2 separate regions of the Homo sapiens genome follow, and region 2 is linked to region 1. The links are contacts of gene promoters, found by promoter capture Hi-C in blood cells and fetal thymus (Javierre and others, 2016). All regions are on one chromosome and are shown on one strand. Each heading gives the region's core, a stretch centred on a gene start or on the middle of the fragment in contact. The rest is flanking DNA. Distances are from core to core; before and after follow the strand shown. Region 1 holds the start of PPM1F (protein phosphatase, Mg2+/Mn2+ dependent 1F). Region 2 overlaps MAPK1 (mitogen-activated protein kinase 1).

What was found. Contacts are between HindIII fragments. The CHiCAGO score rates a contact against its expected background, and 5 or more counts as called.
Region 2: a contact is called between a fragment that was not itself captured here and the fragment with the promoter of PPM1F in region 1, in 1 of 17 cell types (neutrophils). The highest score is 6.2, in neutrophils.

What each region holds. Positions count from the first base shown.
Region 1 is chr22:21,950,168-21,954,884 of GRCh38, reverse strand. It overlaps PPM1F (protein phosphatase, Mg2+/Mn2+ dependent 1F), which reads left to right and starts at 2,037. Exons shown (of 8, transcript NM_014634.4): 1 at 2,037-2,093. RefSeq lists a silencer at 1,845-2,254 and enhancers at 2,248-2,768, 2,815-2,884. The HindIII fragment of the contact is 22,373 bases long and covers 1-4,437 here.
Region 2 is chr22:21,853,453-21,857,893 of GRCh38, reverse strand. The region is part of intron 1 of MAPK1 (mitogen-activated protein kinase 1); the gene reads left to right. Among named protein-coding and RNA genes, the nearest start is that of MAPK1, 12 kb to the left of the region's middle. RefSeq lists an enhancer at 1,551-2,052. The HindIII fragment of the contact is 7,079 bases long and covers 1-4,441 here.

The sequences.
Region 1 (4,717 bases), core at 788-3,287:
TTGAGAAACAGTGGCTCAGGGTCTCACAGCAGCCCTCTGAGATAGGTTGGTTGCTATTGTCCCGATTTTTTCTCATCAAGAAACTGAGGCTCAGGTGAGCTAAGGAATGTGCCCAGGGCCACTGTTTATAAGAAGTAGCCTCAAGCCTTGCTCATGGTTACTGCCCTGACAGGGATCTAGGAAAGAGTGAGCAGGAGAATGGGATGAGGCAGGACCCTCCGCCCCAGCCCTGCTTTCTCTGCCCAGACACCTCCTGCCTTGCAGACCCAACCCCACCCCAGATGGTTTCCTTTCCAGTCACCCAGCTGCTAGTTCTCCAGGTTCCTGGTCTCACTCCAGGTTCCTCCTGTTAGAGAAGCATCCCAGAGACATTCATTCCTGGCAAGGACACAGGCCTGCGGACCTGAAGGTCAGGTGGGCAGAGCCACATAAGATCTGGTGCCCCATCCTCCATTTAAAAAATTATACTTTCCAACGGCATTGGTATAAAGGTGAATATATTAATATCATATATTAAAACATTTTCTTTGACATAAAGGTTTCTTTCTTCTGCCTTTAAAATAAAATATTTTGGCCAGGTGTAATGGTTCACACCTATAATCCCAGCACTTGGGAAGGCTGAGGCAGGAGGATCACTTGAGCCCAAGAGTTCAAGACCAGCCTGGGCAACATAGAGACCCTGTCTCTACAAATTTTTTTTAATCAGCTGGGCGTGGTGGTGCTTGCCTGTGTTCCCAGACACTAGGAAGGCTGAGGCAGGAGGGGAGGGTCACTTGAGCCCAGGAGTTTGAGGCTGCAGTGAGCTGTGATCATGCCACTGCACTCCAGTGTGGGCACCAGAGAAGGAGCTTGTCTCTAAAAAGAGAGAAAAAGAATATTTTCAAGAGCCTCTGTGTTGGCAGAAAAATGGCCCTTCAGAGATGTTCATGTCCTATACCTGTGCCTGTGTTAGATTACATGGCAGACCCGGCATAGTGGCTCACGCCTGTACTGTAATCCCAGCACTTTGGGAGGCCGAGGCAGGCAGATCATTTGAGGTCAGGAGTTTGAGACCAGCCTGACCAACATGGTGAAACCCCATCTCTACTAAAAATACAAAAAAAATTAGCCGGGCATGGTGGTGCGTGCCTGCAGTCCCAGCTACTCGGGAGGCTGAGGCAGGAAAATCGCTTGAACCAGGGAGGCAGAGGTTGCAGTGAGTCGAGGTCATGCCACTGCAGTACAGCCTGGGTGACAGGGTGAGACTCCGTGTCAAAAAAAAATAATAATAATAATAAGGGGCAAAGGGGAATTAAGGTTGCTAATCAACTGATTTAGAGAGATGATGCTGGACTATCTGGGTGGGCCCAATGGCATCAGGAGGGTCTTTAGAAGTAGCAGAAGGAAGCAGAGGAGGGAACCAGAGGTGGCAGTGTGAGAAAGGCTCAACTGGCCATTGCTGGCTTCGAGGCTGTAGGAAGGGGCCACGAGCCAAGGTATGCAGGGAGCCCTTAGGAGCTGGAAAAGGCAGGGGAACAGTTTCTCCCCTAGAATCCTCAGAAAGGAACGCATTCTGGCGATCCCTGGATCTTCGCCCACTGAGGCTAAGTGGACTTCTGACCTCCAGAACGGAAAGATAACAAAAGCCTCAACGTTTGTGGAAACAAACAACTCATAATGAGCCTGGGACTGTGCCTCCTTCCCGGACGGATGAGCCTGCCTGGGCAGTCTGGGTTTGCATCCCTGCTCTGTCACTTACCAGCTATTGACGGCAGAAGTTGCTTAATTTCTGGGCGCTGTGACCTAGGGATTGCTTTCCCCATCCAGCCGCCCACCCAAAGCTGCAGAAGAGAAGCAAGAGGCTGGTGACTGGGGCGGCTCCGGAGCCCAGGTGGAGCCGCAGTTCGCCTACCACTAAAGGGCCGCAGTCACCGTCCACGTAGCCGCCAGGGGGCAGCAGAGGTCCGGCCCCGCCAGCCTGGAGGCCCGACTGCGCCTGCGCGGCGCCCGCGGCGCCCGCGGCGGCCAGGGACGGGAAGTGGGCGGGGCCGGCCGGCAGCAGCTTGCGGGACACGGAGCCGCGAGGAGACAGCTGAGGCCCGCGGAGACCAGGGGTGAGGAGGCCGGGGGGGACGGGATTAGAGGGCTGACGGGGCTGGGACGAGGGTCAGGCGAGCGCCCAAGGCGCACAGGGGTGAAATGGGACCGAGGAACCGGAGGGGTGGAATCAGAGGGCTGGGGAGGCAAGGAGGCCGAGACGAGGCTCACATGGGTGCACCGAAAGGGTGCGGGGGTGCAGTGCGGGGGGCCGAGGAGCAAGAGGGGCCGCTGCGGACATGAGGAACCCGAGGCTGGGAGTTGGGGGGCTGGGGAGCCAAGGGGGCAGAACTGGGGGGCAGGCGGGGGTGTGGCCGAGCCGAGGGCCTGGTAGGGACCGAGGGCTATGAGGCAGAATCGGGTGCTGAGGGGGACGCGCCCCATTTTCCGAGATTTGGCCTCTCCCCACCCCCCAGGAGCCTCTGGGCCGGCACGTTGCCCCATATCCCCCCAGTCCCTGCACCTTCAGGGGCCCAGTCTGCCTGATGGCCCCCGGCTCCGCGGCCTCCCAAGCGTCCGTGAAGCGAGCGTCAGCTGCACAAGTGCTCGGGCTGCAGCTGCTTCAGCCACAGGTCTGTGAGCCAGAGCCTCAGGCGCGGAGGCCGGGCACATTGCCGCTGGGTTCGGTCAGGCAAGCCCCTGAACCTGTCTGTACAACAGGAAGAACTGGCTCCGGCTGCAGGGATTTCGGCACAGCGCTTGACACACAGTGAGGCCCACTGCATGGTGGCGGGCTCCTTCGAAGCCTTCCACCCTGCGGGACAGAGTCACACATGTCGTGGTGGCATTCCCCGGGACAAGTTCTCTGGGCCCAGCTGAGCTCTCACCACGGGGGATAGAAAGTGGGGCCGGCCAGCACTCTGAGGCCATCTCCAGTCTCTTCTGTTGTCAAATTTCGCTCTTTTCCTCCTGCACGCGAGGTGGAAATACCAAAGGCATTGGGCATCCAGAGACCTTGATTGAGTTCGCTTTGCCCTTTCACCTGTGTGAGACCTTAAATGGGTGCTTGCCCTCCTATAACCTATTTCTTCATCTGCAGTGTAGCCTGACAGTATGTACTTCTCAGCGTAGTTGTGAGAGGTAAACAAAACGAATGCATTTCTGAAAGCCATGAACCTCTACACAAGTTCATTTGTGGAATTCCTTTAAGATACCCCCTGAAGGCCGGGCGCGGTGGCTCATACCTGTAATCCCAGCACTTTGGGAGGCCGAGGCAGGCATATCACCTGAGGTCAAGAGTTCCAGACCAGCATGGCAAAATCCCATCTCTACTAAAAATACAAAAATTAGCCGCGCGTGGTGGCAGGTGCCTGTAATCCTAGCTACTCAGGAGGCTGAGGCAGGAGAATTGCTTGAACCTGGGAGGCGAAGGTTGCAGTGAGCTGAGATCCCACCATTGCACTCCAGCCTGGGCAACAAGAGCGAAACTCCCTCTCAAAAAAAAAAAAAAAAAAAAAAAGGATACCATCTGACCTGAAGCCAACCGAGTCTTTTAAGACCTGGCGCTGCTGCCCACTGCACCCTTCAGAGTGGTGTAGCTTCCTCAGCCCATGCCACCCGCCAGTCACTCTTCCCTCTGCCATCACACTTACCACCTGCTGTACACAAAGGGCCATCGTGGGCTCCCTGACTACAGGGAGCTTACAGTCTATCAAGAAAGTCAGGCCTGTAGAAAGAAATGGTCATTGCACAGCAATGTGACTATGCTTAATGCCATGGAACTGTACGCTTAGAAATGGTTAAAAGGATACATAGTGTGTATATTTTACAACAATAAAAAAAATTTATATATGTAGAAAAAAAATCTAGGATTTACATCTAACTATTATTAGTATTAGTAGTTATGAATAAAGAAATAAGAATCTCTTTTGGTAGAAAAAGGTTGGCCAGGCGTGGTGTCTCATACCTGTAATCACAGCACTTTGGGAGGCTGAGGCGGGCAGATCACCTGAGGTCAGGAGTTCGAGACCAGCCTGGCCAACATGGTGAAACCCCATCTCTACTAAAAATACAAAAAAATTAGCCAGGCGTGGTTGTGGGTGCCTGTAATCCCAGCTACTAGGGAGGCTTAGGCAGGAGAATCACTTGAACCTGAGAGGCGGAGGTTGCCGTGAGCCAAGATTGCGCCACTGCACTCCGGCCTGGGTGACAGAGCAAGACTCTGTCTCAAAAAAAACAAAAACAAAAAAAAACAGTTAACATGAATGATGCTTTTGTTACACTATAGTGGTGCAGTTCCCTTTTCTAAGGATTGCTGGGTTTTTTTCATTACCTTGGTTCTGCAGTTAAGCAAGACTCAACAAGTATTTTTTCTATGTCCCCTAAAAAACTGCAGTTGTTAAACCCTGCATTCGTTAAGCTTAGGAGTCAAAACTAATGCACTAGAGGAAAATAAATATTTTAAATTAAAAAAAAAAAAACTTTTTACAAGTCAGATGTGAGCAAAAGTGCCATAGAGACATGAAAGAGAGCATGCTGGATCCAAAGATGGGGAGATTTCAGCAAAGCCTCAAAGGATCTGAGAGATCTCGGGAGGCAAAATGGAAGGAGGGCACCACAAAACAAGGAGGGGAGGGGCTGCCCTAGGGTGGGGGGTACACAGAAATGGAAGGAGGAGCCATGAGAGAGCCAAAGCCCAGAG
Region 2 (4,441 bases), core at 1,898-4,397, 98 kb after region 1:
GGTACTGTTTTCCCTGTCATTCTCCAGGGAGTGTGTATCACTCTCCGGTTTTTACAGATGAGGAAAATGAAACAAAAGTTGGGTAACTTGCCAGTCACAAGTAAGGGGTCAAAGGATTGTCATGAGTATTAAATAAAACAGTATACTTGAAGTCCTGAGCACTTGGTACCTAGTTAATGCTCTGTTATTCCTTTGAAGTAAACAGGGTTGACAAGATGTGAATCCCCCTTTGTCTCGGTCTCTATGTAAAGCAGCATGTGCAGAAGTACAAATATTTGGCTTGGTGGTCAGATGACTTTACAATGGTATGGAAGTGATACACATGCAGTAGAAACCTTACTTCCGAGTACCCACGCAACTGTTCTGTTTTTCATTTTCAGTATAGTATTTCATACATCATATGAGTTACTCAACACTTTTATTATAAAATGGGCTTTGCGTTAGATGATTTTGCCCAACTGTAGGCTAATGTAAGTGCTCTGAACATGTTTAAGGTAGGCTAAGCTAAGCTGTGATGTTTGGTAAGTTAGGTGTATTAAATGTATTTTCAGCTAGGCTGGGTGCAGGACTCATGCCTATAATCCCAGGACTTTGGGAGACCGAGGCATGAGGATTCCTTGAGCTTAGGAGTTTGAGACCAATCTAGGCAACATAGTGAGGCCTTTTCTGTACTAAAGGTACTAAAAATTAAAAAAAAAAAAAATTAGCCAGGTGTGGTGGTACGTGCCTATAGTCCCAGCTACTTGGGAGCCTGGGGCTGAGGATCGCTTGAACCTGAGTGGTCAAGGCTACAGTGAGCCGTCGTCGTGTCACCGCATTCCCGCCTGGCAACAGAGCAAGAAACTTTCCCAAAAAAAACAAGCATTTCACCTTATGAGGTTTTCCATTTATGAAGGGTTTATTGGGATGTAAGTCCATAGTAAGTCAAGGAGCATCTTTATATAGTTAGAATAGGGACAGTCAAGTGTTTCATGCATAATCCAAATCTTCAGGAGGCAACATCAAGGTAACCCGAGTTTAGGGATATTCTGCAAAATAACTGGCCTGTAAACCTCAAAATTAAGTCAAGATCATGGAACCAAGAAAACACTGAGGAATTGTTCCACACTAAAGAAGTGTGCAGAAACATGGCAACTCCATGTGGTTCATGATTCTGAATCGGCATGATTGGCAAAACTAGAATGTCTGAAAATTAGATTGTAGTCGTGTATCTGTGTTAATGATTTTATTTTTATCTTCTTTTTTTTTTAACTCTTCTTTTTTTTGGTATTTTCTTTTTTGTTTTGGTTTGTCCTTCCTTTTTTTTGTTGTTTTTTGTTTTTTGTTACAAACCCTTGTGTCGATAGCTGACTGCTCTGCTGTATACGAAACCCTGACCCAGAAACAGGTTGTCTGTGAATGGTTTAGCACAGGTCCCCCGTGAATGTGCATTGTGTGACGGGCAAAAGTGTGGCCGCCTTTCTACTGTGCCAAGTTTTCCAGCATGAGAGGCTTTCCATATCTGGTCCTCAGATATGTGGTGTGAATGAAGGGGGGACCAGCTATCCGAGGCCAACCGAGGCTCCACAGTTGGCTGCCATGTCATTTTGCCTGGGCGGGATTCTGACTTAGAGGCCTTTGGTCATAATCTGACAGGTGAGCGTTGACGATTTTGATGGTAGCATTTTGTTTGTATGGGAGAATAGTCTAGTTTTGTTTGTTGGAAATAGTCACTAAAGTATTGGGGGATAATGAGAAAGAAATACTGGCAAACTTACTCTCACATGCTTCAGAGACTAAAAGTTTGATAAGCTAGATATAGAACTTTTCCTATGGTTTGAGATATAGTTCCTTTTCTCTAAAGAGTTGTCGGTGAGTCCCTTTCAGAAACGTACTTGAGTGAGGATGTGTTGAAATTTGTGGGAAGCTGTGAAAGGCAGCTTTTAGCCTACCAAAAGAGGACTGGCCTGGAAGGCAAGAGACCTGAGTCTTGGTCCCTGCTTCTGATGACATGTCACATGGGCATGTGCTCGTCACTCTGCTTCTGCAAGTTTTTGTGTTTCTCATCTGTGGAGTTAAGGGATTGGGATGGTCTCTAGGGTCTCGTACAGCTCTAATATTGTCACCGCCCTCAGGAACATTACATGAAATTAGCATATATGCAATATATTAAGATTCATGTGTGGATTGTTTCCCAGTTACTAGCGCTGTCTTTAATGTAATTTACCTCAGAAATCTCTGGATAATCATTATTGAGATATAATGAAATAGGGAAAAACTTGAGGTTAAAAACTAGTAAATTGATTTACTTCAACATTAAAAGCCCACAATTAAACCCTTGAGGAAAATGACTATTTTTATTTTTTATTTTTTGCTCTGCAAGTAAGGTTGGAACTTCGTAATACTGTATGACAGTAGTCGTTTACCTCACGAATTAGATTATTCATGTGTGTTTGACTGAAGAGAGTTTTTACCTAGTGACTGGAATGAATGTTAATGCTGCTATTTTGGCATTGGAAAAAAAAGGTGTAATGAAAAATGTCAAGTTTGAGAGAGAGAGAAATACTTAAATAGAACTGATTTAAAAGCAATTCTGAAAAAGAAAGAACTTGGCACAATCTTTCTATGAAAGCAAAGACTTTACTGCACAGCTAAAGAAAATGAAGCAAAAACAATACATTGCCCCAATTAATGTTTGAATTCACTGAACACAAGGTAGGCTAGCAAAGTAGAGAGTAATATCTTTGCCTCACCTTGGCCACAAGGATTTATTTTGTCAGTAACCAAGTTTAGTGTACTGCTATTTAGCTTTTTCACTACAGATGTGAAAATGTTTCTTTTTGGGGTTTGTTTGAAATTTTCTTTCCCTTTTCAATTTAGCAGTGCTGAACCTATCCTCAAATAAATTTACATTTTTCCCATTAAATCAACTTTGTTTCTGTTCCATGGTTGAAGCAAATACTTTATAAAGAAAAAAATCAGTGTAGACCTTTCACAAGTTAATTATTACTGCAGGGCTATATAGGCAAATAAAAATATTAGATGTTATGTTTTAGACCAGTGAAAAAACAGTTGGTAGTGATGCTAGATTAAGACTTGCCAGAATGTTCATCCCCTTAGTGAGCCATTCTGCTTATGATAACATTTTGTAATGTTTTCAGGCATTCTTTTGGGACAGCCCTGATCACTTATCATTCAAAGGGATGATAAAAGTGACAATCTTTAGACGTGTTGTAAATTCTTTCTTTCTTTCGTCCAAAGGGAGCTAGAAAGAAAAGACATTTGTGATTATCTGTCCACTTGAACACAACTGCTAGAAAGAGCTATTTAATTATTGCCAACAAGGCAGTGTGAGAGTTTATAGTAACATTAGGAGTGTTTCCAGTTATCCCAGCAGGATTCAGCATTCAAGAACTGGTAAATTTTGGCCAGACGCGGTGGCTCACACCTGTAATCCCAGCACTTTGGGAGGCCGAGGCAGGCGGATCACCTGAGGTCAGGAGTTCGAGACCAGCCTGACCAACATGGAGAAACCCCGTCTCTACAAAAAATACAAAATTAGCTGGGTGTGGTGGCACATGCCTGTAATCCCAGCTACTCGGGAGGCCGAGGCAGGAGAGTCGCTTGAACCTGGGAGGCGGAGCTTGTGGCGAGCCGAGATTGTGCGCCATTACACTCCAGCCTGAGCAACAAGAGTGAAACTCTATCTCAAAAAAAAAAATCTGGTAAATGTTTGTCTGGCATCATAGAATTTAATGCTTACCTCTAAAAATGTAAATTGGAAAATATTTTAGCCTTATGTGGTGTGTGATGTTAGCAGGGAAGTCTCTAATGTTTTCACATGAAGTCAGATGCTGGCTTTGGACCGAGGTGTATTTTGTTTACTTAAGGCAGTATCCATCATTTCCTATTTTAGTTTTTTGTTTCTTTTTGTTTGTTTGTTTTTTGAGATGGAGTCTTGCTCTGTCTCTCAGGCTGGAGTGCAGTGGTGCCATCTCAGCTCACTGCAACCTCCACCTCCTGGTTTCAAGCAATTCTCCTGCCTCAGCCTCCCAAGTAGCTGGGACTACAAGCGCGTATTGCCACCCCCAGGTAATTTTTTGTATTTTAGTAGAGACAGGGTTTCACCCTGTTGCCCATGCTGGTCGTGAACTCCTGAGCTCAGGCAATCCACCCGCCTTGGCCTCCCAAAGTGCTGGGATTACAGGCATGAGCCACCGCACCCAGCTGTCAGATGTCTTTACTGCCTCCGTGAAGATGATATGATTTCATCACATTTAACATTGTTAATGTGAAGATCATGTCAATAGATTTCCTTATATGGAATCTCTCATACCTGGAATAAACTGTGCTTGTTTATTTGTATTCCTTTTTATAATGTGCCATTGGATTCTGTTTGCTAATATTCAGAGATTTTGTGTTGATATTCGTAAGTAGTATTCAACTGTAGTATCTTTTGTGC